Regions from separate parts of the Homo sapiens genome. Here all the other regions are linked to region 2. The links are contacts of gene promoters, found by promoter capture Hi-C in blood cells and fetal thymus (Javierre and others, 2016). All regions are on one chromosome and are shown on one strand. The core of a region is centred on a gene start or on the middle of the fragment in contact, and the rest is flanking DNA. Distances in the headings are between cores, read along the strand shown.

Region 1 (6,032 bases), core at 2,672-5,171, 79 kb after region 2:
AAAAAATCTGCCACTGTATTGATTAATGTTGAAAACAGTATGCTAAGTGCAAGAATCCAGGCTCAAAAGGTCACATGTTGTGTGATTCCATTTATATGAAATATCAAGAATATATAAATCCATAGAGACAGAGTGCATGTCTCTATGGAAATAGGGATAAGTTGCTTAATGGGTAAGGGGGTTTACTTTGCGGTAATGGAGATGTTTTGGAACTTGATATGGACAACATAGTATAATAATGCTGCTGAATCATTCGTTTTAAAATGTTTCATGTTATCTTTTTTAAGACAGAGTTTCACTCTGTCACTCGGGCTGGAGTGCAGTGGCATGATCATGACTCACTGCAGCCTCGACTTCCCAGGCTTAAGCGATTCTCCTAACTCAGCCTCCCACGTACATAGGACTGTAGGTGCATGCTACCATGCCTGGTTACATTTTTTTTTTTAATTTTTTGTAGAGATAAGGTCTCACTATCTTGCCCAGCCTGGTCTGAAACTCCTGGATCCAAGGGATCCTCCCAACTTGGCCTCCAGAAGTGCTGGGATTATAGGCGTGAGCCACCATTCCTGACCAGTTTTTTGTTTTGTTTTGTTTTGTTTTGTTTTGTTTTAAAGAATGATATATCAAATGTAAAGGAATCATTCTCAAAGAAAGGTGAAGAAAACTGCTATAATTATTCTTCCTGCCCAAATAACAGTTGAAATACGTTAACATTTCTTTTCACGTATTTTACTGGCTTTCAGAGGTATTTGTAAGTAATACAGATTTTAGTGGTGGTGGTTTGTACTAAAAGTTCTCCCGGCTGTTGCTGATAGAACCAACAAAGAGTTCTAAAATGATAGGACACTGACATCTCAGGGCAAAGAACAAACAGTCTCAGCTTACAAAAAAAACAGCAAACGGTACATGAACTAACTCAACATTTAGATACCCCTTAACAAAAATCATCTATTTAACTGTATGCACACCCCTAAATCACTAAAAGCTGTAAGTAAATCTTTTCCCTGCAAGACATGACCATTTTTATTAAGACTTTCATACATTTCACCATATAAAATAAAGTGCTGTGAGTAAATATATTACAAAAATGCAACAACCTGCAAATGGGCTTACAAATCAAAGTCTGTTGTGCATGTGTCAATAGTGATCCATGTCAACTGGACTATGTAAGTGGCTTTTGTATGTACAATTGCCCATTGTTGTGGTATTCATAAAATCCTATTTTAAGAGCATAAACATCTTAATTTGTAAAATGGGAATGATAGTCATATCTACCTTCAGAATGTGATTATAATGGTTAGAATTGGTTAATATATGTGAAGACTTAGAGCATCACTTAGCGAGGATAAGCACTCAGTAAGTGGTAGCTATAATGAAGAGGATAACTGCTACTACTGTTATTTAGCCAGAACTCCTAGTGCTAGAGATTGTTTCCAGTCTGTTACAAATTAAGAGCTGGGCAGAATATTTTTTGTGCTTTTCTTATGTAGTAATAGCCCTATTGTAAATCTTAGTACTGCCATTGCTGGGCTAATTAATGTGTGTCTTTTAAAAATTTGTGGCCAGGTGCAATGGCTCACACCTGTAATCTTAGCACTTTGGGAGGCTGAGATGGGCAGATTACCTGAGGTCAAGAGTTCAAGACCAGCCTGACCGATATGGAGAAACTCCCATCTCTACTAAAAATACAAAATTAGCTGGGCGTGGTGGCTCATGCCCATAATCCCAGCTACTTGGGAGGCGGAGGCAAGAGAACCGCTTGAACCTGGGAGGTGGAGGTTGCGGTGAGCTGAGATCACGCCATTGCAGCCTGGACAACAAGAGTGAAACTCCGTCTCTTGTTGGGGGGGGAAAAAAGTTTTGATGCAGTTTGCCATTTGTGCTTTAAAGGAAGATTTTACTGGTTTACACTCCCACCAGTGAAAGTGCCTGTGTTACTGAAATCTCATCAGGTGGCTTTGTTTTATTTGTTTTACATAGGTCTTTGTCTCTACCAGAGCTAGAAACTAATATTCATGGAAACTAGTTAATGTTTTCTCTCTGGATCACCCATTGATGAAAGATACTTATTGAAACATAGTAGGAAAGAAAACATAAGGGAAAGAAGAAAAAAAAAAGCATTATTTTGATTTCAGAAAGACCTGGGTTCAAATCTCAGCTTTATCACCTAGCTACATGACCTTGGACAAAACTATTTTTAGCTTCTTAAATTTATGGGATTTTTTTTCCATCTTGAATTAAATTATGCATATAAGTGATCATTTAGCATGGTGCCTGCCACTTACTAAGAGTTACTCTTATTATAACTGGAGATGGGATGGGAAAAAATACACTTCATGAGTGTTTTTAAAAAGCAAATAAGGCTGGGTCCAGTGGCTCACGCCTGTAATCTCATCACTTTGGCCTGTAATCTCATCACTTTGGGACACGAAGATGGAAAGATCACTTGAGCCCAGGAGTTCAAGACCAGCTCAGGCAACATAGCAAGACCTCATCTCTACTAAAAATAAAAATTAGCCAAGCATGGTAGTGGGTTCTGTAGTGCCAGCTACTCAGGAGGCTGAGGTCAATCACTTGAGCCTGGGAGGTCAAGGCTACAGTGAGTTATTTATTTATTTATTTATTTATTTACTTTATTTATTTATTTATTTATTATTTTTGAGATGGAGTTTCACTCTTGTCGCCCAGGCTGGAGTGCAGTGGCGTGATCTCAGCTCACCGCAACCTCCGCCTCCCAGGTTCAAGTGATTCTCCTGCCTCAGCCTCCTGAGTAGCTGAGATTACAGGCACCTGCCACCACACCCGGCTAATTTTTTGTGTTTTTGGTAGAGACAGGATTTCGCCATGTTGGGCAGGCTGGTCTCAAACTCCTCACGTCAGGTGATCCACCCACCTTGACCTCCCAAAGTGCTGGGATTACAGACGTGAACCACCACACCCAGCCTGCTACAGTCAGTTATAATCACACCACTGCTTTCCAGTCTAGGAAACAGAGCAAGACCCTGTCTCTCAAAAAATAAATAAAAAGCAAATATTACAGTGGAGTGCAGTGGCATTCACTTGTAGTCTCAGCTACTGGGGAAACTGAGGTATGATTACTTGAGCCCAGGAGTTCAAGCTCGGCTGCAGTGTGCTATGATCGTGCCTGCGAATAACTACTGCACTCCATCCTGGCAACATAGCGAGGGCCTGTCTGTAAAAAAAAAAAAAAAAATTAAAAAATCTTTTAAAGCAAATATTACAATCCTTGATTTTTTTAATCATTTAATATGGGGAGCTTTTTCCATCTCCAGTTATAATAATTCTTAATAAGTTATTCTCTTATATAATTATAGCCTCCAAGACCCTTTACATCAAAACCTGAAGTGTTGTAATCCTTAATTTGATTCTATTTATTTTTGATATTATCTTTTTACTTTTGAATTATATTCTTCTATTTTCATTGCTCTTTTAACTGTAGACATGTGCTTGGAGAATAGCTATGTTCTTTAGAAAATTAATATGTTTTAATTGCTTAGTTCACAGTAAATGGTGTCAGAGGTAGTTGATTAGTTTTATTGTGTGTGTTTAAGTGTATTGACTTTTTTGTGTTCCATAAATAATTGATTTCTTTCTTGACTTTTAATTAATTTCTGCTTTTACCTGCTGGTATAAATCAGAAATGCCTGATTCTTAAAGCCAATCAATAAACAGATTTTGAAAAAGCTTTGAGTTACTTGAAACACATTTTTATGTCTTGACGTACCTGAACTGTAGCTGATTACTTAATGCTCACTTTTCTCATAACATTTGCTAAAAGTACTCAGTAAAAATTTGAGGCATTTATCGAAAGTTACGTATTTTATGACTTCAATTTTGTGTTTTAATCACAACATCAATATTTTGCTAATTATTACTCTTGGTTTATTTTATCACTGAATTGTCAGGATTATTCTCACATTCTTTCCAAAATCATTCCATGTCATCATTTACTAAGTATTTACAAAATTCTGGCTACTTGTACTAGGCAAGTGGGTTCAAGATGAGTAACACTGACCTTATCCTCAAGGGTCTCAAGTCTTTTCGCATCTTAAAATATTCCATACACATGCATATTCCATACATACACATAGAGTTTTCTAGATGACTGAAGCTTGTCCCTTAAAATATTAAAACTTAACTTTAAAATGAAAATCCGTAAAAAATGAAAAATGTCTTGAGGGGCTGTTGCTGTGATGCCTGTAATCCCAAGGCTTTGGGAGGCCAAGGCAGTTGGTTTACATGAGTCCAGGAGTTCAAAACCAGCCTGGACAGCATAGTGAGACCCCATCTCTACAAAAATTAGCCAGGCATGGTGGCTGCGCCTGTTGTCCCAGTCGTACAGCGGCACGACCACAGCTCACTGCAACCTCAAGCTCTTGGGCTCAAGTGATCCTGAGCTGAGGTGGGAGGATCACTTGAGCCCAAGAGCTTGAGGCTGCAGTGAGCCATGGTCATGCCACTGCATTCTAGCCTGGGTGACAGAACAAGACCCTTTCTCAAAATAAAAAAGAATCTTGAACATCTTCCTGCATTCTTCAACGGAATAAACTGAGCTGTCTTAATTTTTTTAATTGTGACTTACATTTATCACTATTAATATTCATTATTTTCAGGTTTTTTCCAATCGTGCTGGAAGCTATCATTTATTTTTCATAGTTGTTAATGTGCGCTATTTCTTTAAATTCTCATCTCTTAAAATGTAAAGAGATTCTGAGAAATGGCCTTGGAGTGAATAGGTTGACGCAGTTTTTACTTCTGATAAATAAGTCCATGAGCTTTTTTAGTGTATAGCCAAAAGTATGGATTCTCACTAATGTCTTTTCAGCTTTCATTATCATCTTAAGGATTTCATAGTGGTTCCAAACTAGTTTCTTTGAATTGCTGTTGGTAGTCTCATTTAAACTTTTAAGTAAAAGCTACAACATGGATAAGCCTTAAATATTATGCTAAGTGAGAGAAGTCAAACACAGAGCCACGTATTACATGATTCCATTTGTATAAAACGTCCATAGTAGGCAAATCTGTAGAAACTGGAAGTGATTTAGGGGTTGCCAAGGGCTAAAAGAAAGGGAGAATGGAGAATGACTACTAGTGGCTATGTGGTTTCTTTTGGAGATCATGAAAATGTTCTGGAATTAGGTAATGGTGATTATTGAACAACTTTGTGAATATACTAAAAACTACTGAATTGTACAGTTTAAAAGGGTGAATCTTACATGTGAATTATATCTCAATTTTTAAAAATCTAAATACAAATTTTTATCATGAGACCCTTCAAAACACCACTCCCTGCATTGGGTTTTTGTTTTGTTTTTTTTGTTTTTTTGTTTGTGAAGAAAGATGGTCTCACTCCATCACTCAGGGTGCTAGAGTGCAATGGCGCAATCTCAGCTTACTGCAGCCAGTAAACGATCCCAGGCTCAAGCGATCCTCCCGCCTCAGTCCCCCAAGTAGCTGGGGCCACCAGCATGTGCCACCACATCCAGCTAATTTTTGGTTTTTTGGGGTTTTTTTTGTAGAGACGGGGTTTTGCCATCTTGCCCAGGCTGGTCTTTAACCCCTGAACTCAGGCAATCTGCCTCCCAAAGTGTTTGGATTACAGACGTGAGCCACTGTGCCCGGCCTATTCCTTAATTTTGAATGTTTTTATATTATATGTAATATTTATTTTCTGTTTTTGTGACTTGTTCTATGTAGCTTTTTCAGTCTTTAAAATTTTTTCAGTCTTTAAAATTTTAGTTTGAAAATGAGTAATTCCTTTGGTAAGCTGTTAAACACATTTTTATGTTGTATTTTTAGGCTATGGAGTTACTAGTAGAGAAAGCAATCAGCAGTGCTTCTAGCCCTCAGAGCCCTGGGGATGCACTGAGAAGAGTTTTTGAATGCATTTCTTCAGGGATTATTCTTAAAGGTAACTCTTACTTTGTTTTTAATGAAGTAAAATGAAGTTTACTCATTTGCTGGTTGAATAATTTTTTTTATAAGTGGACAATGCTAATAATTTCCTCTCC
Region 2 (5,607 bases), core at 2,476-4,975:
ATATATATTAATCATATAATCACACAATAAGTATAAGATTGCAACTGTGACAAGGGCAACTAAGAAGAGATGTCTGGTGCTCTGAGAGCATAGCAAGGGTTTGACCCATCAAGGTCACGAGGGGTTGAATGAGTTGCGATCCCCAAGCATGAGGGTAAACCAGGTAAAGGGAAGAAGGGAGAACATTCTAGGCAGGGAGAACATGCAAAGCCCCCTGGTGGGAGGGAGCATGGTGAACAGGAGGCCAAGATAGCTGGGATAGAGTGAATAAGGAGGAAGATGCTGAAAAGGCAGGTGGGCCAGGCCACAGAGTCTCGTGGGCCACATGGAAGAATTTGCTTTATCCTGAGAGATGAAAGCACAGAGGATTTGATCAGATTTGCATACCAAACCAGTTCTGGACATGAAGGATGACAATCCCTATTATAATTGGTTGCTTCTGGTCAAGTATTTCATCTTTAATTGTTGACCCAGAAGACTACGTACAGCCATGTTGCCTAGACCGGGTACTCTAGAACATAAACTCTTCCAGGGCAGAGCCACCTACTTTTGACTTGTAGGTGTGATTTGCACAATGCATTCACTTATTAGAAGGTTGATTTTAAAAGACTGACAATCGGCCTGGCACAGTGGCACACGCCTGTAATCCCAGCACTTTGGGAGGCCAAGTGGGTGGATCACTTGAGGTCAGGACTTTGAGAACAGCCTGGCCAACATGGTGAAACCCTTCTCTACTAAACATACAAAAATTAGCTGGGTGTGGTGGCGCATGCCTGTAGTCCCAGCTACTTGGGAGACTGAGGCAGGAGAATTGCTTGATCTTGAGAGGCGGAGTTTGTAGTGAGCTGAGATCGCGCCATTGCACTCCAGCGTGGGTGACAAAGCAAGACTTTGTCTCAAATAAATAAATAAAAATAAAGAACTGACAATCATCTAGCCTAGTCTTTTTACATGAAAAAGCTAGGCGTTAGGCCAGGCATGGTGGCTCACTCTCACCAGTAATCCCAGCACTTTGGGAGGCCGAAATGAGCAGATCGCCTGAGCTCAGGAATTGGAGACCAGCCTGGGCAATGTGGCAAAACTCCATCTCTACAAAAAATACAAAAATTAGCTGGGCATGGTGGCATGTGCCTGTAGTCCCAGCTACTCAGGAGGCTGAGGTGGGAGGATTGCTTGAGCCCAGGAGGTTGGGGCTGCATTGAGCTGAGATCACAACACTGCACTTAGCCTGGGCGACAGAGTGAAACCCTATCTCAAAACAAAAAAAACTAGATGTCTTACATAAATGCTGCCTCATTTAAACCCCACCAGAGTCCCATCAGGAAGATGTTATTGTTATTCTTGCCGTATGGGTTCAGATAGGTTAAATAACATGTTCAGGTTACTCCACTACTAGATGCCCAGGAAAAATATTCAAGACCCTCCAAAACTCCTTCCTTAAAGGAGCCCAAGTCAAGGGCAAGTAGGTGCGATACTGAAAGGTTGTTCCTACAGGCTGCATCTTTGAGAGTGCTGTTGTAAATAATTTTCACTACTGCCACACCTACTTTGACCCCTAAGAACCAGGGGAGAGGCCCCGTCTTCCTCTTTCTAGTTATGTGCTTGCTCATTGGGGTGTGCCAGTAGCACGCCGGCCTCCAAAGGCCTGCCAAGCAAACAAGCATAAAACTGGCCTACACAGACTCTTTTTAGGCAAGTAATCAACACCTGTCTTTTCTCCTCCAGTTTTATTCAAATAGCCTAGTAACTAATAGAGCCGGTTCATCAAAGCAGTTACAGTCAGTGTCTTGAAGCTTGACTGCTCAATGAAGTTCAAGGCAAAATACCTTTAAAATACAGTTCTAATGTCCTATGTGTAGGAGGTATTTCTTCCTAGCAACATCCTTGGGGCACAAATAACTTTTGCCTGGGAAAACATCAGTATTCTCAAAAATAATGACACTTAACTTTTCTCCAAGGTTCTACATTTTCTCTTTCTGAAATGAGTAACAGGACAAATCAGACAGGTTCTGAGAGCCTGTACTTTTGTAGGAGGCGTGGGGAGCAAGGTTGGCACAAAAAAGAATTGAGGCATTGTTTCTGCTCTGGCACAAGAAAGTAGGACAAAGCCCTGAATTTCATGGGTGGGTTCTGATTCACCCTTTGCATTTCTTTTTTTTCCTTTCCTTTTTTTTTTTTTTTTTAAGACGGAGTCTCGCTCTGTCGCTCAGGCTGGAGTCCAGGGGCGCGATCTCGGCTCACTGCAACCTCTGCTTCCAGGGTTCAAGCGATTCTCCTGCCTCAGCCTTCTGAGTGGCTGGGACTACAGGCGCCCGCCACCACGCCCGGCTTTTTTTTTTTTTCTTTTTTTTTGAGACGGGGTTTCACCATGTTGGCCACTGACCTCACCTCGTGATCCACCCGCCTCGGCCGCCCAAAGTGTTGGGATTACAGGCGTGAGCCACCGCGCCCGGCCAGCATTTCCTTTTAATGTTCATATCCAACAATGAGGAGAGATGAGGAGCAGGGAGTCTGGGGGATGGGCATGGAGAAGGTAAGGAAGAGGTGAAATGCAGGCAGTACATATGTACTTGATGGAAGACACGAAACATAAGGCCAGAGAAACTAGACGATCAGAAGAGGGACTGGAAGAGGAAAGAGAATGGTTGAAAACGAACTGAGAAACTAAAGGGAAGAAAGCGAGGAAACAGAGGGAAAGAGGAAATGCTTACATGGGGGCAAGTACTGTTCTGTCCTTACCACTAAAGATCTGGCACGTGATCTGGTCTCCCTCTCACTTGACTCCAGCCAGACTGATCTTCTTGCTCTTGAACATTCATTCCTTCATCTGGACCCTTCCACTTGCTGCTCTTCCTGCAGGCATCTCCCAGGCCTGTCCTTCCTTCCTTCAAGTGGTCTCCCTAACCACACTCTACATGAAATAGCACCTCCCTTACCCTTATTTTCCTTACTCTGCTTTATTTATGCTTGAAGCTCCAGTCACCATCAGACAGAATTTCTGTGTTTTGGCTACCGGCTGTTGGCTGACATATACCCGCTCCTAGAACGTAAACTCCACGGGAACAGGGACTTTGTTTTGTTCTCTGCCGTATCTCCAGCACCTACAACACTGCCTGACACCCTGCTGGGTGACCGATATACGCCGGATGGCTCAGGGAGTGGGTGCAGGTCGAGGAAAGGGTATAGCAAGAGGTATGTCCGGGAGGGATGTTTAGGGTGTGCTTTTAGTCCAACAGAAAAGCACTCTCCATCCTTTTTCTATTTCTCTCCTCTCCTTCTCCCTCCCTCCGCACTTCAGAGGTTGGGGAAAAGCTGCGGGAAAGCAGGAAATAAGGAAAAATCCTAAATTGCCCAGCTCGAATTCCAATGAAAAATTAATGAGCGAGGAAGACAGGGAGGCAGGGAATAAGTGCACATGCAAAAGTTAAGGAAGCCAGTGGAAAGCAAAGAAAAAGGCGAACAGACGTCACTCTCTCTGGTCACGCTCCCCGACTCCCCAGAGGACAGGCGAGGCGCTTCTGGCACACGCCCCCGTCGCCCCGCGGCCGCGCGGCGTCACCACCACTTCGGAGAAGGCCAGGCCCCTCTTCCCCCGCGGGCTTCCCCGCGCCCGCACCGCCGAGGCCCCGGCACGCGCCCGGGGGAGCCGCGAAGACGGCGGGGACTACAGCTCCCAGGATGCCGAGCACAGGCGCGCCTGCGCAGTGCGGTCGGAGGCGGCGGTCTGTTCTCCGCTGAGGAGGAGCGGGGCAGAGGAGGGAGGCAGCGGGTGAGAGTTCAGAGTTCAGCAGCAGCAGCCCGAGCCCATGATTCCCATATGCCCTGTAGTTTCTTTCACCTATGGTGAGTCTAATGTGGCCCGCGAGGCCTCTGCCCGGCCCCCTCCCTGGCCCCGGGCAGCGGGGAGCCGCGGGGGTTGGGGCAGGCTCCGGGGAGGAGGCGGCGGCCGCCACCCGGGCGTGCGAGTGAGTGAGGGAGTGCGAGGCGGGAGGGGGAGGCGGCGCGGCCGCGGCCTGGGCCCCGCCAGGGCTGCTCTCACGGCGCCTCTCTCTTTCTCTCCCTGCCCTCCCTCGGCGTCTCGGCTCCTCTGTGTCTCTTGTCCCGCCATGGGACCCGACTCTTCGTGCCCGCCGCAGTGCCCAGCCGGCTGGGGGAAGATGCCAAAATGGCGACCGGCAACTACTTTGGATTCACCCACAGCGGGGCGGCGGCGGCGGCGGCTGCGGCCCAATATAGGTAACGGCATCCTGCCTTCTCTCTGTTCGCCCCTTGCTCTCCCCTCGGTCCGGATCCTGTCGATGCGACGCCCCCGCGCCCGTCCCCAGCCATCCCAGAGCCCCGGCCCGCTGCAGGCCTGGCCCGGCCCAGCCCGGCGGCCTCTCCCGCCCCGCCCCGCCCCGCCCCGCCTTGCCCGGCCCGGCCCGGCCCGCGGCGGGGAGCGGCCCCCAGTAGGGGGGAGGTAGAGACGGCGGAGGTGTAGGGACGTGGAGGCCTCAGGGCCCTTCAGCGGCCCCTTAACTAAAATGGCCTCCTGCGGCCGCCGAGCGGAGCCGCCACCGCCGCCCGGCAGGCCCCCCAGTCCCCGCCTCCGCGCGTCCAGCCCCCACCTCCCATCTTCTTCCCACTTGGGGGATGGAGAGGGTGGCTGAAGGGACCTCACGGGGAGTGCCGTGTCGCAGGTCCACTGGCTTCTCGTGCGACGCCTCTCTGCGTCGTCGCCTGGTGCTTCAACCCCCGGAGCCCAGATAACGTGTCGTTGTCTCGGGTACCTTTTCCTCCGCCGTGGGGCTTCTTCCCCAGACGCTCCATCGCTAGCGAGTCCTGCTGACAAACTGCGGGTGTCACTGTGTTCATCGGGTTCCTTTAGTTTTTCCTGCAAGGAGAGAGATTCACATACCAACCACCTGTAAATTGTGTAGTTCTTAGACTGGAAAAGATGTGCGAAGTTTCTAGTGCTGATAAATGAGTGCCCAGCCTTGTTTGAGCTATGGAGTTTAGGCCCCAGGTGGGCCTGTCATTCTCCTTGCGGGGGTCTTTCCCCTGCGGGGAATGGTGGGGAGGGAAGAAGATGCAAGTGAGATTGTACTGAGTCATTGTAATGCACCGGATGAAATCCCTGCTTTAAGGGAAGCTCTCATTTCTGAAGTCTGTAGTTCATTATACATCTTACCAAAGACAAACACAACAGTGGATTGTTAAATTGTTACTTTTGAGTCAATCTGAGACTTTTGATTCAGGCCATAAGCGCACACGGCTCCTGCGTGATATGCTTTTTATGTATGTTAGATGTTGGTTAAACCCAGGCAGTTTTTTTCATTTGATTTACTTCAGGAGGCACGGTGTTTAATGGAAAGGGCATCATTGGGAGCCAGAAGACCCGAGTTCAGTCTCTTTTGCTCTTGATTTTTTTTTTTTGAATAAATAATTTTTCTTAGAGAGAAAGGACCTATGTTGCCCAGGCTGATCTCGAACTCCTGGGCAGAGTCCTGCCTCGGCCTCCCAGAGTGCTAGGATTACCGGCATGAGCCACCACACCTGGCCTCTTTTGCTCTTGATTTTATGACGTTGGGAACATCATATAGTTGGGTTTTCATGTTCATCATCTGT
Region 3 (5,679 bases), core at 2,555-5,054, 76 kb before region 2:
TCATCTCTGATGTCTCCTTCTTTGTTACTTCCCACATCTAATCTGCTGCTCAAATTTGTCCATTTTTTTCTTTCTTTCTTTGAGACAGGATCTCACTCTGCTGCCTAGGCCAGAGTACACTGGGGCGATCTCGGCTCACTGCAGCCTGGTCCTCCCAGACTCAAACAATCCTCCCACCTCAGCCTCCCAAATAGCTGGGACTACAGGCACACGACACCACAACTGGCTATTTTTTTAATGCAAATTTTTACATTAAAATATGTTTATAAATCATAGTAGTTGTTTTCCCTCTTGATTCAACATTTCTCCCTCCCCTAACAGGAGCCCTAGAACCTGAAGAGCATGTACATTACTAACCAGATATATAATCCAGCCGCCCTGTCCAAACTGGAATCTGATTACTAATGGACTAGAATCGGGGCTGCCCCCAAGGGATGGGAAGCAGTAACTACGCTCTCAGGGAGAATGGGTACTGAGGGTGCCATCAGTCAAAGAGCCGAAAGCTGTGCACTGGGTCCAGGATGACTTGCACACCCTGTTCACTGCACAGTTTCCGACCACCATGGACAGGGGAATCTTGAAACACCAGTCTCACTCAATGATGCCGTATGTCCTTGCTCACATTGATAGTAAAGAGAGTAAATATCATTCTCATGACAATCGGAATGAAGATGAAATTGAGGGTGGTGGCCTGCAGTAGGCAGCAGTCCCGGTGTGGATTGGTATGAACATCTTCGTACTGAACAGGGGGCTGCAATCCTCCTGTACACTTGCTCTTTAACCTGTTTTTTTAACTTGAAGTTGAATTTCCACATTGGTTCCTGTCTGTTCCCAACAATATTTCTGCACCAGAAAAGTAAGCATTTGGAATTCTTTAATGTGCTGGGGGTGCTTGGATTCTTGGAGATTGGAGCAGCAAATGGCTCATACATATATGGTACAGAGATCGGATCACACAAGCCCGGAGACAGCGCAGCTTCTCCATTGACTCTGGTCGCAGACGCAAAGGCAGGGAAGCATCCAGCGTGTAGTGCCTTCGGTACAACCTTGTCCAAAAGGCAGCAGTGCAAGTGACAGTCCGAGCATTCTTACAAATCAGGGAAAAATTCACAATGTCCTCAGGACAGATATAGGAGGCCAGCAATAGCCAAATATCCATGGGATACTCTTCTCCTCCAGCCCCGTCCAGTTCTTCTTTGTGCCTCTTGCTTTTCTTTTTTCTGGAGACAGTTCTCTCACAGATGCTTTCCTCCTGGGCATCGTCTCATCACCGCTGTCGATGATGTCACAGGGCTCACCAGCCCCAGAAAGAGCTTCCTCTGCAGGAACCTGAGAGGCTTCCAAGCCACAAAGAGATTTTACTTCCTGCTGAACAGCGTTGGCTAAGGCTTTCTTGACTCATCCAGACCTCACGACCGCTGGATCCGAGTTGGCGTAATCCACCTCAGTCACTTGTCCAGAGCAGGCGTCGTGGGCCCAGAACTTGAGTCGCTTTCCTCTCTTGGGCATGGCGACCGTATCGGGGCGAGGCCTGCCTAGCTGGCCGGGCCCCCGGGCCATGTCTCCGGCCCGGCTCCGTGGCCTTCCCACACCGGAGGCCGCTAACTCTCCCACAACTGGCTATTTTTTGTATTTTTTGTAGAGACGGGGTTTTGCCCTGTGCCCAGGCTGGCCTCAAACTCCTAAGCTTAAGCAATCCTCCCGCCTCAGGCTCCCATGAGCCACTATGCCTGGCCAAATTCGTCGATTTTTAAACCTAAGTTTTCCCCTTTTCCTCATATACTTGATTTCACATCTTCATCTCTCATCTGAACTATTGTTTCATCATAGGACTTACCGCTCTCTGCAGTGATTTATTCAGATTACATCTGTGTTGAGGAGTAGGCACCGGATGGATGTTCTGTGGTGCTAGTTCTTACCCATGTATGTATGAAACCTGGGCAAACCCCATAGTTTTTCATTAATTCTAAGAGTTAAAAAATATTCCGATCGCGGCCAGGCGTGGTGGCTCACTCCTATAATCCCAGCACTTTGGGAGGTCAGGGCAGGCAGATCACTTAAGGCCAGGAGTTCAGGACCAGCCTGGCCAAGATGGTGAAACCCCGTCTCTACTAAAAATACAAAAATTAGCCAGGCATGGTGGCTCGTACCTGTAATCCCAGCTAGTCGGGAGGCTGGGGCAGGAAAATCATCTGAGCCTGGGAGGTGGAGGTTGCAGTGAGCCGAGATCGCGCCATTGCACTCCAGCCTGGGCAACAAGAGCAAAACTCCATCTCAAAAAAAAAAGATAAGAAAGAAAATATTCTGATTGCTTTCAGCCACAAGAAAAACTAATGTTATAAATTAATATGTCTCATGCAGTATAATCATCGGAACTCTTGACTTTATGTCAACTTGCCTCAGCGTGGCCTGCTCAAGGCAGAAGCATGCAGTCAAGGAGAGGGTGATTGTCTGCTTCTCTTTTTCCTCTGGGAGCCTCTCCTCCACAGCCCGCACTTTCTGGGACTTCTGACCCTCCAGGCTTGGAGTTTCTCTGAACATGTTAAATGATTTGAGCTGATGCTTCTCTCCTGGTTACTCCGATGGGCTGGCCAGGAAGCTGTCTGACTGCTCCTCTTCACTTGGAGTTGGGGAATGGCCTCTGCTTTGGTTTGTCATTCATCACCCTTGGCAACCTTAGCATGGGGTGGCCGTCTCCACACGGACTGTCTCTCTGTTGTGTCCCATCGTACTCTCAGGCAGTCCTCTTGGGCAAGATCTCTTTTTCTCTTTTTTAAAGACAGGGTCTTGCTATGTTGCCTAAGTTGGAGTGCAGTGGCTATTCATAGGTGTGATCATAGCTCGCTGCAGCCTCCAACTCCTGGGCTCAAGTAATCCTCCCGCCTCAGCCTCCCAAGTAGCCAGGACTATAGTCACACCCCACAGTGCCAGGCAAAATCTCTTTTTAAATGATGCCAGGTCAGAATTCATACATCAGTTTTCACCTCTGGTCCCAGAAAATAAGCACCTTAGACCCACTGCTTGGGGAGTGCAGCTGCTTCTAAGGCAGCCTCGCAACCTTTTTTTTTTCAATGACAACTTTATTGACATTTAATGCACGTATCATAAAATTCGCCACTGAAGCACATTCCATGGGTGTTAACATATTCACAAGGTTGCGTAACCATCCCCTCTCTCTAATTTCAAATATTTTCATCACTCCAAAAAGAAACCCCTGACCCATTAGCAATCATTCTGCATTCCCTCCTTCTTCTAACCTCTGGAAACCCCCAATCTACTTCCTGTTGCTATGAATTTTCTTATTCTGGACATTTCACATAAGTGCAACTGTACAAGATGTGGTCTTTTGTGTCTGCCTTCTTTAACTTAGCATTATGTTTTCAAGGTTCATCCACACTGTAGCATGAATCAGTATATCATTCCTTTTTATGACTGAAAATATTCCATTGTTTGGAGATACCACATTTTGTTTATTTATGTTTGTTTATTGATGGACATTTGGGTTGTTTCCATTTGTTGGCTATTATGAATAATGCTTCTATAAGCATTCATGTGCAAGTTTTCGTATGGACATATGTTTTCATTTCTCTTGGGCATATACATAGGAGCACAATTGCCTGGTCATAAGGTGACTCTATGTTTAAATTTTTGAGGAACTGCCAAACTGTTTTCCAAAGTGGCTGCACCGTTTTACAATCCCATCAGCAATGTATGAGGGTTTCTGATTTCTCCATATCCTGGCCAGTGCTTCCTATTTTGTCTCTTTGTTATTTTACCCATCTAGCAAGCATGAAACAGTATTTCACTGAGGCTTTGATTTCCATTTTCCTAAACTACCGGATGATGTTGAGCAGCTGTTCATGTACTTATTAGTCGCTTGTGTATCTTCTTTAGAGAAAGTCTATTCAAATCCTTTGCCCATTTTTTTTCAACTTCTATTTTTGATCAGGGGGTACACGTCCAGGTTTGTTACATGGGTAAATTGTGTGTCACTGAGGTTTGGTGTACAAATGATTCCATCACCCAGGTAGTGAGCATAGGCAGTTTTTCAACCCTCGCCCTTCTTCCATCCTCCCTTTTCTAGTAGCCTCCAGTGTCAGTGGTCAAGGCAGCTCATGCCTATGATCCCAGCAATTTGGGAGGCCAGGGAAGGAGGATCGCTTTTGTCCAAGAATTTGAGAACAGCCAGGGCAACTTAGTGAGACTCCAACTCTGCAAAAAAAAAATTTTTTTTTTTTTATTTAGCCAGGTGTGGTGGCACATGCCTGTAATCCCAGCTACTCAGGAGGCTGAGTTGGGAGGATCACTTGCGCCCTGGAAATTGAGGCTGCATTGAGCTGTGATTGTGCCACTGTACTCCAACCTGGGTGACAGAGTGAAATCTTGTCTCAAAAAAAAAATAAAAATAAATTAATTTTGAGACAAGATCTCACTCTGTCCCCAGTGTCATTGTTCCCTTCTTATGTATTTGTGTGCTCAATATTTAGCGCCCACTTATAAGTTAGAACATGTGGTGTTTGGTTTTCTGTTCCTGCATTAATTCACTTAAGATAATGGCCTCCACCTGCATCCATGTTACTGCAAAGGATGTGATTTCATTCTTTTTTATGGCTGTGTAGTATTCCGTGGTGTATATGTACCACATTTTCTTTATCTAGTCCACCATTCATTGGCACCTAGGTCGATTCCTTGTCTTTGCTATGGTGAAAGTGCTGTGATAAACTTATGAGTGCACATGCCTTTTTGGTAGAATGACTTACTTTCCTTTGGGTATATACCCAGTAATAGGATTGCCAAGTTGAATGGTAGTCCTGTTTTAAGTTGAGAAATCTCCAAACCCTTTTCCATGGGGACTGAACTAATTTACATTCCCAGCAACAGTGTATAAGCATTCCCTTTTCTATACAACCTTGGCAACATCTGTCATTTTTTGACTTTTTAATAGCCATTCTGAGTGATGTGAGATGGTATCTAATTGTGGTTTTGATTTGTATTTCTTTAATGATTAGTGATGTTGAGCATTTTTTCATATATTTGTTGGCTGCATGTATATCATATTTTGAGAAGGGTCTGTTCATGTCCTTTGACCATTTTTTAATGAGGTTGCTTGTTTTTTGCTTGTTGAATTAAGTTCCTTATAGATTCTGGATATCAGACCTTTGTTGGATGCATAGTTTGCAAATATTTTCTCCCATTCTGTAGGTTGGCTGTTTAGTCTGTTGATAGTTTTTGTTTGTTTGTTTGTTTGTTTTGCTATGCAGAAATTCTTTATTTTAATTAGGCTCCACTTGTCAATTTTTTTGTTGCAATTGCTTTTGGGCACTTCATTATAAACTTTTTGCCAAGGCCAATGTCCAGAATAGTATTTCCTAGGTTTTCTTCTAGAATTTGTAAAGTTTTAGGTCTTACATTTAAGACTTCAATCCATCGTGTGTTAATTTTTGTATATGGTGAAAGGCAGGAATCCAGTTTGATTCTTCTGCAAATGGCTAGTCAGTTATCCCAGCACCATTTATTGAATAGGGAGTTCCTTCCACATTGCTTGTTATTGTCAACTTTGTCGGAGATCATATGGTTGTAGATGTGTGGCTTTATTTCTGGGTTCTCTATCCATTGGTCTATGCACCTGTTTTTGTGCCAGTGCCATGCTATTTTAACTTCTGTAGCCTTATAGTTTGA
Region 4 (5,869 bases), core at 2,766-5,265, 97 kb after region 2:
AAAAATGATAGCATACCGTGTATGATCTACACCTTGCTGCTTTTTATTTAAGGTATCTTGGAGTCTTGGAGGTTATTATGTATCAGTACACATAGAGAAACTGCATTTTTAACAATCACTATAGGATCATTCCAAATTAGATTTTTTGTTTTTCTTAAATTTTATCTGGGAGACTACGCCATTGCACTCCAGCCTGGGTGACGAGCAAAAATCCATCTCAAAAAAAAAAAAAAAAGCTGGGCACGGTGGCTGATGCCTATAATCAACACTTTGGGAAACTGAGGCAGGTGGGTCTCCTGAGGTCAGGAGTTTGAGACCAGTCTGGCCAATATGATGAAACCCCCTCTCTACTAAAAATACAAAAATTAGCCAGGCATGGTGGTGGGAGCCTGTAATCCCAGCTACTCGGGAGGCTGAGGCAGGAGAACGGTGTGAACCCAGGAAGTGGAGCTTGCAGTAAGCCAAGATCGTGCCACTGCACTCCAGCCTGGGTGACAGCAAGACTCTGTCTCAAAAAAAAAAAAAAAAAAAAAGCCAGGGAGCGGTGGCTCACGCTTGTAATCCCAACAGTTTGGGAGGCTGAGGCGGGCAGGTCACGAGGTCAGGAGTTCGAGACCAGCCTGACCAACATGGTGAAACCCCATCTCTACTAAAGATAGAAAAATTAGCCAGGCATGGTGGCGCGCACCAGTAATGCCAGCTACTCGGAAAGCTGAGGCAGGAGAATCACTTGAACCCAGGAGGTGGAGGTTGCAGTGAGCCAAGATCGCACCACTGCACTCCAGCCTGGGCAACAGGGCGAGACTCCGTCTAAAACAAACAAACAAAAAATGTACATGGTTCTGATACAAATTGTGGATCATGCTTTAATAAATGCTTTATAGCAGTGACCATAATGTACTATACAATGCAAAACTAAACTATATTTTAAATTTAGTATTAAGTGTATTTTGTCATCAGCCAAATCGTGTATATATAGTTATCAGTATGTTAATCGGAATATTAAGCAAATCGTAATATCCCCATTCCCTAAGGAATTTTTTTTTGATACTTCAAGTTTTACGGTACATGTGCACAACATGCAGGTTTGTTACATATATATACATGTGCCATGTTGGTGTGCTGCACCCATTAACTCGTCATTTAACATTAGGTATATCTCCTAATGCTATCCCTCCCCCCTCCCCCCACCCCACAACAGGCCCCGGTGAATTTTATTGATTACCTGTAGTCTCGGTAATTTTAGTCTTCCTTTATCTTGCTTAGTGTAATAATATTGGGTGTAAAATAAAATCTGGAAATATGAAACAGTTATATTACTAACTTAAAGCCTGAATTTTTTTTTTTTTTTTTTTTTTTTGAGACAGAGTTTTGCTCTGTCCCCCAAGCTGGAGTGCAGTGGCACAATCATGGCTCCCTGCAACCTCTACCTCCCAGGTTCAAGCCATTCTGCTTCAGCCTCCCGAGTAGCTGGAATTACAGGCAAGTGCCACCACACCTGGCTAATTTTTGTATTTTTAGTAGAGACAGAGTTTCACCATGTTGTCTAAGCTGCTCTCCATTTCCTGACCTCAAGTGATCTGCCGGCCTTGGCCTCCCGAAGTGCTGGGATTACAGGTGTGAACCACCGCGCCTGGCCTGAAAAATATTTTTTAACATTAATTAAGCTGATTCTATGTTAAATACAAAGCTAATATATTCACCTCATTCTAATATAATCCCAAGTGAGACATGCTATTTAATATTAAAGAAATTGGGTCTTTAGTTTGGAAAGGACTATTCAGTTTAGCAACAAACCTAATGTGAAAGCCTTTTTCTAAAAAAAGGAAGCAACCTATGGAATAAAAGTATGAAATTGATTAAATTTCATAAAATTTAATCAAATACGGAATAAAAGTATGAAAAGATTAAATTGATTGTAGGAACTGATTACTCTAAAAATACATGAAGATTAAGAGTTCAGGCTGAGTACAGTGGCTCACGCCTGTAATGCCAACACTTTGGGAGGCCCCAGTGGGCAGATCACCTGAGGTCAGGAGTTCGAGAACAGCCTGGCCAACATGGTGAAACCCTGTCTCTACTGAAAATACAAAACTTAGCCAGTGTGGTGGTGCATGCCTGTAGGCCCAGCTACTTGGGATGCTGAGGGAAGAGAATCTCTTGAACCTAGGAGGTGGAGGTTGCAGTGAGCCAAGATCATGCCACTGCACTCCAGCCTGGGCAACAGAGCAAGACTCCATCTCAAAAAAAGAAAAAGAAAAATGAGAAAACTTGATGACACAGGGCTTGTGTTTCTACATGGTAACAATTAGCTAAAGCTGAGAGTAGGGGCCACTCCCTTTAGAAGATAAATTTTAGACATAACCTGTTCTGAACAGTTTACCACAGCCTCCATCATTTCCTATTTGTCTACCAGGCTAGCCCTGTTGGCATTTGATTTTATTATATCTCAGACCCCAGACATTTTACCTATGTATTCTTCCAACTTTAACATGGAACCGTATCTGTTAAGTTTGGGAACAATCTCTAGTTATTTTCCATTCTAAATTTTTAAATTCTGTAATCAGGTATTTCCTATACATTAGGATATTTAATGCTCCTCTACTTAATGTAACAGACAGCCACAGAGAAACACTTGCACTTTCTTCACTGATTTTTTTCAAAAGAAATATCAGGAAGAAGGCCTGAAATTTAAGCAAGCTACAGCCTTAAGAAAATCCATCCTTTCATTGGAGAGACCAAATCCATTACCTTCTGAAAATCTCAGTCACGTTGGAGTAGCCTGCCTGTCATCCTGTCTGCTCTCTGGACTAAGAGAAAGAGGTAGAAGAAAGGGCATTGGGAGTTGAAGAAGAAGAAAACATAGATGAGCTAAAAGGAAAATAAGATATTTCTAGATGACAAAATTTCTAATTGTATTGTTACTGGAAAGGGGTCCCAATTTCTTGGATCTCACATGAGAAAGAATTCAGGGCAAGTCCATAGAGTAAGGTGAAAACAAGTTTATTAGGAAAGTAAAGGGATAAAGAATGGCTACTCCATAGGCAGAGCAGCAGCCTGGGCTGCTCAACTGCTTATACTTATTGTTACTTCTTGATTATATGCTAAACAAAGGGTGGATTATTTATGAGTTTTCTGGGAAAGGGGTGGGCAATTCCTGGAACTGAGGGTTTCTCCCATTTTTAGACCATGTAGGGCAACTTCCTGACATTGCCATGGCATTTGTAAACTGTCATGGTGCTGGTAGGAGTGTCTTTAAGCACGTTAATGCATTATAATTAATGTATAATGAGCAGTGAGGATGACCAAAGGTCACTTTCATCACCATCTTTGTTTTGGTAGGATTTGGCCAGCTTCTTTACTGCATGCTGTTTTATCAGCAAAGTCTTTGTTACCTGTATCTTGTGCCAACCTCCTATCTCTTCCTGTGACTACAAATACCTAACCTCCTGAAAATGCAGGCCCATAGGCCCATAGCCTTATTTTACCCAGCTTCTATTCAAGATGGAGTTGCTCTGGTTTGAATGCCTCTGACATATTTTCCCCCTGCCTTTTATAAGAAAACCCTTAATCCTGAGTTCTAGAGGGACAAAGATCCATCTTCTGTAACTTCTTCAGGGTGAGTAAGGGCAATGATATTCCTGGTTAACAAATTAGGGTCTCTTGTATTTGTGGTAGAGAGGCACTCAGTAAGAAAGCATCAGTATGGTGAGGGCCATTCATAACTTTGAGTTCCAACAAAAGGTAATATCTAGAAGATTAATAAGTGTTCAATTTAAGAAAACATTCAGTAAGCTTATCCTGCATTCCTACACAAAGAGTACAACAGCAATATATTCCACAACAGTAAAGCAAAATAAGTAAAATTATCCCAAGTAAACTAAATAGAAGACTTTCCATGAACTGGGCAACTGTTGGAACCAAGCTGATACAGGGTTGCCAGCTGATTCCAATATGTGCCTAGAATTAGAATACTTATCCAGACTTTTTTCACAGTACCCATCCATCTCTCTTGTTTCTTCTAAGCTGTAGCCAAAGATCACTGGTTGGTTCACAGGAATAAGCAGTCGGTCTAAATTGCAGAATAAAAAAAAACTTAAAAAATACTGATGAGACTAGAATCTAATCACAGGTGTACCATTGTTCTTGAAACCTGATTTTTTTCTCTTTCCAGTCTTCCATTTTTACTAAAGACAAATCATACTAAGACCGATTTGCTTGCAAAAATAAGCTTTTTTGAAAAGATAAATCAGGTAGAGAGAAAACAAATATACTCCAAATTTTGTTCATGGGAATATACTTTACTCAATTGTTAAAAGCTGTAAATAGCTCAAAAGAAAAGTTGTCTTGACTCCGAAAAACAAAACAAAGGATTAGCAATATTTTAAGCAAAAGGTCAAAAAAGATTACTTCAGTCTTCCATTAGTTCAGTCCTTGAAGTTAACTCCTGTTGATATTCATGAACATTTCAACTCTCCATGAGAGTCCTGAAAGTTTTTTCCTCTATTCTAGTGTAACAGTCTTCAAAGTTGTCAGGAACCTGCATTCAACAGCACTTGTCAAAGTCCTACAGCTAATTATACACCACCTTTTGAAGAGGATTAAAACAAAACAACAATAGTCTGTGGATGACAAAAACTCTTAGACCAGCCATTATTTAAGCCACAATGGATTAGGAATTTTGGTTACCTCTATGGTACACAATAATTTTACATAACAATTATAATTATTAATAACATACACTATGTCATATCAGAATTATAGGAGTTTCCCATAATTTTGGAACACATACCAATAATGTATTTATACAAATATAGTGCAAAGAAAGCCACCATTTCATATTTGGCAATGCTTCCTATATGATTTTTATACCAAATAAACCAGTTTCAGCTTTGCATTAATGTACTATTAATGTTAAACCCAATTCTTAATAAAACCTTGGCTGGGTGCAGGGGCTCATGCCTGTAATCCCAGCACTTTGGGAGGCCGAGGCAGGCGGATCAACTGAGGTCAGGAGTTCGAGACTAGCTTGGCCAACATGGCAAAACCCCGTCTTTACTAAAAATAGAAAAAAATTAGCTGGGCGTGGCGGTGGGCACCTGTAATCCCAGCTACTCAGGAGGCTGAGACAGGAGAATCTCTTGAACCCGGGAGGCAGAGGTTGCGGTGAGCCAAGATCACGCCATTGTACTCCAGCCTGGGCAACAAGAGTGAAACTCTGTCTCAAAAAACAAACAAACAAAAAACAAAAAACAAAAAAAAACATTAATTTTTCACAAACCTTCAGATTTATCCTAACTTGAAACAATCATTTAACCCTTTAAGCAAAAAAAAAAACCCCACATTCCCATGCCTTCTTAAAATATTTTACTTGGGGTGGGTGCAGTGGCTCATGCCTATAATCCCAGCACTTTGGGAGGCTGAAGCAGGCAGATCATGAGGTCAGGAGATCAAGACCATCCTGGCTAACACGGTGAAACCCCATCTCTACTAAAAATACAAAAAATTAGCCAGGCGTGGTGGCAGGCACCTGTAGTCCCAGCTACTCGGGAGGCTGAGGCAGGAGAATGGCGTGAACCCGGGAGGCGGAGCTTGCAGTGAGCAGAGATCACGCCACTGCACTCCAGCCTGGGCCTGGCTGACACAGCGAGACTCAGTCTCAAAAAATATATATATAGATAGATATAGATAGATAGATGATAGATAGATGATAGATAGATAGATGATAGATAGATAGATAGATAGATAGATAGATAGATAGATATAGATAGATATTTTACCAAAAACACATTTCACTTTTCTTACACACCTTGCATGTAAAACTGTTTTTACTTCCCAAAAATTACTTAAGTCACATGAACTAAAAGAC

The links. The method cuts DNA at HindIII sites, captures the fragments that hold promoters and counts their contacts. A CHiCAGO score of 5 or more calls a contact.
Region 1: a contact is called between a fragment that was not itself captured here and the fragment with the promoter of ZFR in region 2, in 3 of 17 cell types (activated CD4 T cells, total CD8 T cells and total B cells). The highest score is 6.3, in activated CD4 T cells.
Region 3: a contact is called between a fragment that was not itself captured here and the fragment with the promoter of ZFR in region 2, in 1 of 17 cell types (activated CD4 T cells). The highest score is 5.3, in activated CD4 T cells.
Region 4: a contact is called between a fragment that was not itself captured here and the fragment with the promoter of ZFR in region 2, in 1 of 17 cell types (total CD8 T cells). The highest score is 5.0, in total CD8 T cells.

The regions. Positions count from the first base shown.
Region 1 is chr5:32,364,064-32,370,095 of GRCh38, reverse strand. It overlaps ZFR (zinc finger RNA binding protein), which reads left to right. Exons shown (of 20, transcript NM_016107.5): 18 at 5,821-5,932. Among named protein-coding and RNA genes, the nearest start is that of MIR579, 27 kb to the left of the region's middle. The HindIII fragment of the contact is 427 bases long and covers 3,708-4,134 here.
Region 2 is chr5:32,442,858-32,448,464 of GRCh38, reverse strand. It overlaps ZFR (zinc finger RNA binding protein), which reads left to right and starts at 3,725. Exons shown (of 20, transcript NM_016107.5): 1 at 3,725-3,843; 2 at 4,137-4,236. The coding sequence starts at 3,807. RefSeq lists silencers at 3,423-4,112, 4,343-4,682 and an enhancer at 4,074-4,631. The HindIII fragment of the contact is 7,512 bases long and covers 1,796-5,607 here.
Region 3 is chr5:32,518,639-32,524,317 of GRCh38, reverse strand. All of the region lies in intron 2 of LOC124900954 (a long non-coding RNA gene), which reads right to left. It also overlaps the pseudogene TMEM183AP2. Among named protein-coding and RNA genes, the nearest start is that of SUB1, 64 kb to the left of the region's middle. The HindIII fragment of the contact is 4,229 bases long and covers 1,690-5,679 here.
Region 4 is chr5:32,345,589-32,351,457 of GRCh38, reverse strand. No RefSeq gene overlaps it. Among named protein-coding and RNA genes, the nearest start is that of MTMR12, 36 kb to the right of the region's middle. The HindIII fragment of the contact is 436 bases long and covers 3,798-4,233 here.